Regions from separate parts of the Homo sapiens genome. Here region 2 is linked to region 1. Evidence: promoter capture Hi-C in human tissues and cell types (Jung and others, 2019). All regions are on one chromosome and are shown on one strand. The core of a region is centred on a gene start or on the middle of the fragment in contact, and the rest is flanking DNA. Distances in the headings are between cores, read along the strand shown.

What was found. Contacts are between HindIII fragments. The study calls those that stand out against the background at their distance.
Region 2: a fragment that was not itself captured here is called in contact with the fragment with the promoter of CPED1 in region 1 in 2 of the 25 tissues and cell types used here (bladder and small bowel).

The regions. Positions count from the first base shown.
Region 1 is chr7:120,986,236-120,990,936 of GRCh38, reverse strand. CPED1 (cadherin like and PC-esterase domain containing 1) reads right to left here and starts at 2,226. Exons shown (of 23, transcript NM_024913.5): 1 at 2,025-2,226; 2 at 1,067-1,546. The coding sequence starts at 1,315. RefSeq lists an enhancer at 2,971-3,050. The HindIII fragment of the contact is 8,627 bases long and covers 1-4,701 here.
Region 2 is chr7:120,868,063-120,872,556 of GRCh38, reverse strand. All of the region lies in intron 1 of LOC124901733 (a long non-coding RNA gene), which reads right to left. Among named protein-coding and RNA genes, the nearest start is that of TSPAN12, 12 kb to the right of the region's middle. RefSeq lists a silencer at 4,322-4,446. The HindIII fragment of the contact is 6,134 bases long and covers 1-4,494 here.

The DNA.
Region 1 (4,701 bases), core at 977-3,476:
TACTGTACCTGTCTCACAGGGCAGTAGTCTGAAACGAAATAAATAAAAGAGTTTTTAAAAGAAGTGGTGCTGGTCAATCGTGGAGGTTTTGGTAATAATGGTAGCAACGGAGCTGGTGTTCAAGTAGAAATTCTACTTCAAACGGTAACCGGCATCATAAGATCGACCAGAATCTACTGTAGATATAAGATGCTACTTACAGAGCCCTCTATTTTGTTGCTACAATACTACTTGTTGTAACATAAAATTTAGTAGCTTTGCCACCATGATCTTTTTTGCATGGATTTTTTTTTATTTCTTCATGTTCTGTTTTACACTTGACTATGTTACAGGTCATTATATTACTGATAGGCATGAGGAGAGTGGTATATTAAAATAGAAATCCTGTGTTACTTTGTGTGCTTTTTGTGTTTTTTTTCAATATTTGACAAGTAAGATTAGTAAGTTTATCTGAATAGTATAAATATAGAATAATCTGTATTTCCCTGATCCTATAAACAATAAAATACATTGTATCAATTCTTTTGAAGAAACCTATTATCCTATTATTTTAATGCTTTCGAAGTAAATATATTGCTTTAGAAATGTGGTCACCAATTAAGAATCAATCTAGCTAGTTACAAAATGAAACTTTGGAGAATCTTTGAGTCTGGAATGGTCTGGGCACTCATACTGACTGCCTTGAGAAAAGAGACACTCAAGGTTTATCAAAGTTTTTGAAACTTTGATTTATGTTTTTGAATTGTAAATCCTCAGATCTCTTAGAATACTGATATTTTAGAAAGAATCCACATCATTTTATGCCTCCTCCAAACTGTCTACTTCATTCCACTGAAATGAAGTGAAATCCTAAGAGATAAAGTAATGCCAGAACTTTCTGGAAGTAACTATAAGAAGTTGAAGCTTATGTAACGTGTTTCCCAGTCATCAGGTCACTCTCTAGGCTGTTTACACTCTGGATCCCTTTCAGACCTCATGGAAGTTAATTTTAGTTTTATAGAAAGGACAGAGAAGCAGATTGCTGTCTTTGCAGAAACTGTCTCCGTTAAGCTTATGAGAGTCTTACCTTTCTGGTTTCCTGGGCATTACCAGAGAGAAGGAAGCACTGTTTGTCCTGAGAGAATCCTTTCTTGCATCTGCTTGCCTGGGTTTCAGTGGATGTGTGTGGGACAGCCCCAGGGGCAGCGGCTGTGAGCTTCCTCGACCCTCGGAGGGTCAGAGTCTGGTAGAAGAGACAGATTGCCACCACTAAGCCCACCAAGAAGGGTCGGGGGCAAAATCGCCGACGACAAGGGAACACTGGGCGACAGACCATGACCAGTTCAGCTTCACTTGGCCCCTGTCCACGTTGCGGGAAAAGTCATAGCAGCTATTTTTTGTCAGCATGAAAAATACTAATCTGTCTTCTTTTTCCCCAACTCCAATCAAGTTTGCTTCATCCCTGCTTAAGAATTTTCCAAAAGGTTGTGCCAAAGAATCATAGGTCCCGAAAGTCTGAGGCTTTTAATAAGAGCTCTTCCATGGATGACAGTCAAAAGTGGATGACCTGAGTTTAAAAAAAGACATCAAATAATAATAGTTGTAACGAATAACCTGAGTGTACCCCAGGCTGCCAAACTGTTGCTTCCAGCAATGCCTTATTCTCACATCTTTCAACTCACAGTAAAGGAGTCCGACTCTGCCTCAGCTTTGCAGGAAGAGAGAAAACAATACCAAAGTATATCTGGAGTCTGAAAACAGCATTGAAGAACGCAAAAGATTAAAACCCAAAGTGCCTGTTGCACAGCTGAACTCAGGCCAGGTTGCCTTAGCAGTTCCTCAATTTTCCTCCGGTTTTAAAGCAGTCTTGCTTTCAGCCTTTTGTATGCTTCCCTTCATTTAGTTTTAAATTCCCACTGTCCTGTAAGTATTCACGGCTTTTAACATAAAAAGGGCATACGCAATTTGAATGGACATGGTTACTGTCAGGGTTTTTGCTTGAATTTGTTTCATTCCGTCTCAAGTTCAAAGTTCTATGTACTTACTCAGTTTTCATCCTTTTAGCCAGGAAAAAAAAAGTTTCCATGATTTCCTAATGGATTGCTGATGAAAACCACTCGGAAGGAAACACCCAGTCGTATGACTCCAATTCATCTCACACACACACAGAGAGAGACACACACACACACGCACACAGACACATAAACACACGCGCGCGCGCCCGCTGCACGCCCGGCGGGAGCAGAGGACCTCGGCATCGCAGCCACCCGGGGCCGGGCAGAGCGGGGCGGAGCTAAGGCCGGGTTCCTCTGGCCCTGGGGGCTGCTGGAGCAGCGCTGTCAGCCCTGTGTCCGAAACCGTGGGCTTCCCCACTTTGGAAACAGCAGCTAGCATTTCCCCAAATGAGGCTGCCCACCCAGAGCTGCAGAATTTAGAAACGTATCTGATGTCTGATCCTCTGTGCAACTTCTTTTTCCTAATACAGAATTGGAAAAACAAATAGCCTTAGCCAATTGGTGACAAAGGTCGAGAATGAGACTAAAGTGAACTCCATGAGTGAATTGGGATATTCTTCACTCCAGGGAATTGTGGTTACTCTTCTGAGGATAAGAGGGTCACAAGTACTGTCTGGACCTCAGACAGCAAGCACCAGAATAACTCAGTCGTCTCTCTGTGTCTTAGTATGGAACTCAGATCACAGATGTTCTTATTACTCCTTTCCTGGACTAATTAATTGGGTCTTTCAATGATCTGATGCTTCATGGCCTGACATTTTGCTCCTAAAATGAGTCGATTATAGCAGGTGTTGGGGGTAACTTTTGCCCAGTAGATAAAGGTACACAGTGGGCTTTGTCCAGAATCAGCTCAGTCTAATTCTGTGCAGACCTTCGGGTGGACGCTGCTAATAGTGCAATTCTGCAAACCCCCTTCCACTTTTGCTGAGGCTGTCAAGGCGAAAGGAAATCAGTCCTTGCTTTGTGAACTCTGGATACCCAGGGCTGTCTTAGCGCATAGCAGGCATTATTTAAAGGCTCTGGACCTGAAGAGGTTTTCAAACTTGTTTCTAAGCCAAACTCTTGTGGGTTGAGGTTCTCCGTGAGGCCACACCCCTAGAGTGAGCCTCACCCAGAGGCACGCTGCTGTCAGCCCCTTGTATTTTGAGAGACGGAGCGCCCCCTAGGGGTGCCCAGCTAGCACAGATTCAGAGAAATGGGCATCTAGAGTTCCTTGCTTGTGAGAAAGAAACCCTTTTAACATCCTATAGAACAAATTAATTAACACATTACAGAAGAAATATTCACACGGAAGCTGGATTTATCCCAAGCCCTTGCATGTATCGCCTCCAGTGGCTTTAATATTATTTTATGTATAGGTTCAGAGTCCTTAATCTTATGACAAATGGGATAGAGAAAAATAAAGTGATGCTTCACTTTTAGAAGCCAAAAGAGTTTTAAGAGAAAATGGCTGAACAGTGGTGTTGTAGGACATATCGTTTTGGTGGATGCAATGTGATTTGAGAGATAATAAGAATTGTGAGATTTCTAAATTGGAATCCAGGGTGTGACAATGCTGTTACTGAGTGATAAGGAATAGGCAGACAGTTCTATTAAGTTCTGTTAAGGCAAGAAGTCTGAAAAACAGAGTTTGGGGAATCTAAAGAGTCATTCTTATGCTTTATTAAATTGTTGAGAACAAGGTACAGAAGAAAGTAAATCAGATGCTAAAATAAAATTGCCATTCGGTTGGGAGAAATGAAAGACAACAGTATTGAAAATTTTAAGATAATATAGCTAGACTTCAAATAATGGGAATTGGGAAGAAGGTGGAAAATTAGTATCCCAGAAATGATTCTAGTAGATTAAAGAACCCCATTTCCCATTTTAACCACTGAGTCCAAGGGAGTGGAAGAAAGCAGTAAGGAAATATTTGCAAGAGAGAGAAAAGAGGTAGCTTGAGAAGGTGCAAACAAGAGGTGGAAAGGAGATATAGCAGGAATTATCACCAAATAGACTAAGGCGATACACAAGCATCTGATTTTAGAGTAAACCCAATCTGGATATGATTCATGGCACTGCCTTTTATCAGCTGTTCTTAAACAAGTGGTTTGACCAAAGTCTCAGCTTTCCTCATTCGTGATATAAGGATACTAATGTTTCCTTTGAAGTGTTGTTGGTACAACTAGTTGAGATAATATATGGAAAGCAACTAAGCATTCTGTATTTGCTGGATAAATGAATGCTGAATGCATGTATGTTAAGGTTTGAATCCTGAGGCTGTGCTCCTTCCTCACTGAGTTTATGGGAGATGTGGTGTCAGACACGTAAAAAGATAATTATCAAATAATGAGTCCCGTGGAACATCTAGACACCAAAAGCAAACATGAGCTCTTAGTTCTCTTCCTTTCCCTCTTTGAGATAGAAGTGCACCCACCAGCAGATGCTGGTTTGGGAGGACAAGGGCAAGGGTGGCATGAAAGCAGCATGTGGAGACTCTACCTGAGAGGTATTTACACCTGAGCAGTAGGTTACACACATTCGAATGGAATGACAGAGCTTGAAGGAGTCAGAAGAGTGAATGAGGCCGGTTGCGATGTCGCTCACCTGTAATCCCAGCACTTTGGGAGGCCAAGGCGGGAGGATCACTTGAGCCCAGGAGTCTCAGACCAGCCTGGACAACATGGCGAAACTCCATCTCTGCAAAAAATTAGCCAAGCCTGTTGGT
Region 2 (4,494 bases), core at 202-2,701, 120 kb after region 1:
TTTCGCTGACTATAGACTTGAAGTAGCTCAGATACAAAATTAGACTTGGAAATAAAATGATCTGCTAAAAGTTAAACTTTCTTGAAATATTTTCTCAGTCTTTTTTCAAAAAGTTAGCTCAATAATTCTTTAATGACCAGAAGCCACTTATCTTAGAACCTTAAGTACACAAAACATAGATGACTAAACACACACCCACACAATATTTTTACTTTAAATCCTTATGCAAAAACAGACATCACAGAATCCTTACACTAAAGCTCATTAATTTTTCAAGACTCTCATTAGAGTGTATTTCTTCTGACTTTGAGTTCTATTCTATCATCTTGGTTCTCCTGATTTTCTGTCCAAGGTAGATTATAAAATCTGTTCCTTTGCTTTTGGCAAGAAAGAGAGCAGGGGATAGGGAAGGGGAGAGCTATGTAGCTTGCAGCAAGCACACCTATGATCAGCAAAAATAATAAATCAGCAAAATCTTGAGAGTGAGGATACAAAAAATTATATTATAAATTTACTTACTAGAGAAGCTTATAAGCCACTCACGTTCATCAGCTCTGAGATTAATACTGAGAAAACAGTTTAATGTATTCACTGTTAAAATTCAGGCACATTTAGGCAAAACAAAAACAAAGTCACAAAACCATGCTAATATCCACAGGTTCATGTAGGCAGGGGCTGGGAAAATACCCCAGCTCTAGGGCTTGAGGGACATGTCAGAAAGGTCAAAGCAGACCCTGGCTTGCTTCTTGCAGGTTTTAGTGTCCAAAGTATCTAAGGAAATTCAACACTGAGAGTGTGTGTGTGTGTGTGTGTGTGTGTGTGTTGAAGGGTGGTCATAGTTGTGGGGGCAGATGGTAGACAACATTCAAAAATTGTCACTAAGCAAGTGGTAACACTATAGCGGTTTAAAGCTCCCTTCTCAACAGGTTCCTGCAAAGTAAGAAGACAACTAAATTATAGGGAGCAAGGTCTACCCTCTAGAGGGAAATATTAAGAATAGTAATGAGGCTTAGCCAAGCAGATGGAATTTGGGAAAGATTTTTGATTCCAAATAGGATTCTAAACTGCAGTGTTAGGCAGGGAAAGTAGAGGCAGGAACCCATAATTAGTGTTTGGCCGATAGTGTAGGGCAAATAGGGCAGGCAAGCCATAACTGGGAGACAAAGAGATTCTAGGAAGGCCTGGCAGCAAGTGGGCTTGTCCTTCCCGTTATACTGTCCACAGCATCAGGATTGTTTCAGGGGTTCAGCATGCAGAAGAGGGGCATCAGGAACTTAGCAAGTGTCTGCTAAGAAAGATAAGGGCTGGCATTATTAACTTAGATGAAGCAGGCATGGGCAATGTTTTTCCTTTATTTCTTCCCTTCCCTTCCCATCTCTTCCATTTCCCTTTCCCTCCCTCCCTCCCTTCCTTCCCTCTTCCTTCTTTTCTTTCTCTCTCTTTTTCTTTCTAGTTATTACTTCATCCTCTGTAGTCATTTCTTAGACCATTACAACTTTGCTCCCATTCACTTCTTTTGTACTGTTATTGGCAAATATATTTTACATGTATTATGCTTTTATACGTTATAAGCCTAACAATTTTCTCTCTTGCTCTCTCTTAGTATATAGATATAATTTTATGCAGTTGCTTTTAAATCAACTGAGAGAAGAAAAGAGAAAAATATGTATTGAAATTATCATTTAGAGTCACGCAATATTACGTTTATTGGTGCTCTTTGTGTGAATTTGAATTACTTTCTGTTATCATCTTCAGCCTGAAGAATTCCTTTTGTATTTCTTATAAGGAGGGCCTGCTAGCAACAAATTCTTTCAATTTTTTGTTTGTCTGGGAAACTCTACTTTGCCTTCATTTTTGAAAGATAGCATTACTGGATATATAATTTTTGGTTCACTATTTTTTACTTTGAGCCCTTTGAATATATTATCCCACTGTCTTCTGGCCTCTCTTGTTTCTTCAGAGAAGTCAGTTGTTAAGCCTATTGGGGTTTCCTTGTAAAGAACATGCCATTTTCCTCTTTTGACTTTCAAGATTTCCTTCATGTTTAGACATTTAGGATTTTTCTATGCTGTGTCTGTTTGTGAGTATCTTTGCACTTATCCTATGTGCTTTCTGGAAATGCACTAGGACATTCTGGACATGTATTTTATTATTTTCTAATAAATATGGGAAGTTTGCAGTCATCATGATTTCTAATATTTTTTCATCTTTCTCTCTCTCCTGTCCTCCTGGCACTTTCGTTATGTGTATGATAGTGCACTTAATGGTGTTCCAATATTTTTCTGAGGTGCTGTTAGTTTTTCTTCATTCTTTTCTCCCCTCTGTTCTTCAGCTATATAATCTCAACTGATCTACCTTAAAGTTTGCTAATTCTTTTGCCAATTCAAATCTGCTGTTGAGTCTGTCCAGTGAATTTTTCAATTTAACTTCTTGTACTTTTTTATTCCAGAATTTTGTTCTGTTTTGCAATGTTTAAATCTCTGTATAGAGATTTTCTATTTGATATGACATTGCCATCACACATTCCTTGACTTCTTTACTCATGCTTTCTTTTGACCTGTGAACATATTGATGAGGGCTACTTTGAAATGTTTTTCTGTTCGATCTAACAGCAGGTCACTGTCACAGGCAGTTTCTGTTGTCTGTTTTAGGTCTTTTATGAGTCATACTTTCTTATTTTTTGTCAGGCCTCGAAATTTTTTATTGGAAACTGCACATTTTAGATAATATATTTTTAGCAACTCTAGATATTGGTCCTCTTTTCCCCTTTGGGGCTAATTATTATTTGTTTATTTTTTTTTTTTTTTTTAGTAACTGGCCATATTATTTTTGTGAAATCTATTTTCTCCTATACTGTGAAGCCTCTGAGGTTGCTCTGTAGGGAAGCACAGCACTGTTTTTTTTTCACAGTCACCCTGGGATGACAATGGTCCTAATAGGAGGCTCTTCTATTCTTTTCCTGACTACAGTCAGCTGTTAAACTCTACTAACTAACTTGGTGCTGTGGCATGCACCTGTAGTTTCAGCTACTAAGGAGGCCAGGATTTCAAGGCCTATGAAGTGCACTATGATTGTGCCTGTGAATAAATAAAAAATAAATGAAAGTTTCCTGCTGATTGTTGTATCATTTTCAACAATGCCTCTGACATATATTCCTCTACAAATTAATCCAATCAAAATGTAGCTTCTTCAAAGGAATAGTTTCTGAGGTCAGTGTTTGATATTTGTTCTGACTGCAGAATGACTCTGCCCAGCTGTCTAAAACCCCGATTCTGTCTTCATTCATGGATCTAATGAAGGTACAGCCTAGACCATATGGTTTAGGCTGTACCTTCATTAGATTTAGGAGTGCCTTTTATCACAACCATCACTGTTTTTGAGAGCAGCCTTAGGCTCTAACTTCCTGTTTCCTGGTAAGCAGGTATATGCAAACCTACCCAGAAAGGCCAAGGAAGTTGGAAAGCTGAAGAAAGGCTGACAAATCCAGTTTCTCAGCAAGAAATATTTAATAGGGACTTATGAACCAAAGAAATGTCTCGGGCAGCTTCAAGAAGATTGATCCTGTGTCCAGCCCTCTACAAAGTTGTTTTCTTTTTTTGTTTTTTGTTTTTTGTTTTTTGACATGGAGTTTCACTCTGTCACCCAAGCTGGAGTACAGTGGCATGATCTCGGCTCACTGCAACCTCCACCTCCTGGGTTCAAGCGATTCTCCTGCCTCAGCCTCCTGAGTAGCTGGGATTACAGGCACCCGCCATCACGCCTGGCTAATTTTTGTATTTTTAGTAGAGACGGGGTTTCACCATGTTGACCAGGCTGTTCTCGAACTCCCAACCTCAAAATGATCCTCCGGCCTCGGCCTCCCCAAGTGCTGGGATTACAGGAGTGAGCCACCGCGCCCTGCCTAGAAAGTATCCTGTATATAGCAAGCTTTTAGGGAAAAGGCATGTGCAGGGGTCACACTTCAGACTTTCTTGCTGAAACTTGTGACCACTGGGGAAATTAGAAAGCATCTCTGTGAGGGGCTATCTATGCTACAAACATCGTTTAAACATTTTGCTGTAGAATACGTTGGTATACAGGAGTCAAATATCTGTCATCATGGTTGTTTAATTCAAGATGGTGTCACTCTTTCCATGCAACTGGCTGTTTTCCTATACTTGTCCATGCTTTGTTGCAAATAAAATCAGTTCCTCTGGAAAGAGATTAGAAGCTATCTGTTTTATGTCTTACTTCTACCCCCAGGCAAAATCTCTGAGACAGAGCTCTGGAGATGGGGATGAGGACAGTGGTAAACTTCTCTTAATGATACTCATACTCTAGGAGCTGAGATGAGTCAGGGAGGCAATAGCCTGAGGTCCTCTTGGCTTGCCTCTCTTAGCATGAATCCTTTGGTCAATCTCATGCACTGGGCAAGGGTGACTGGGGCAAAGGTGACTGGGCAAGGGTGACTAGGACCCAGTATTCACCCTGTACCACACTCAGGGACTGGATGAG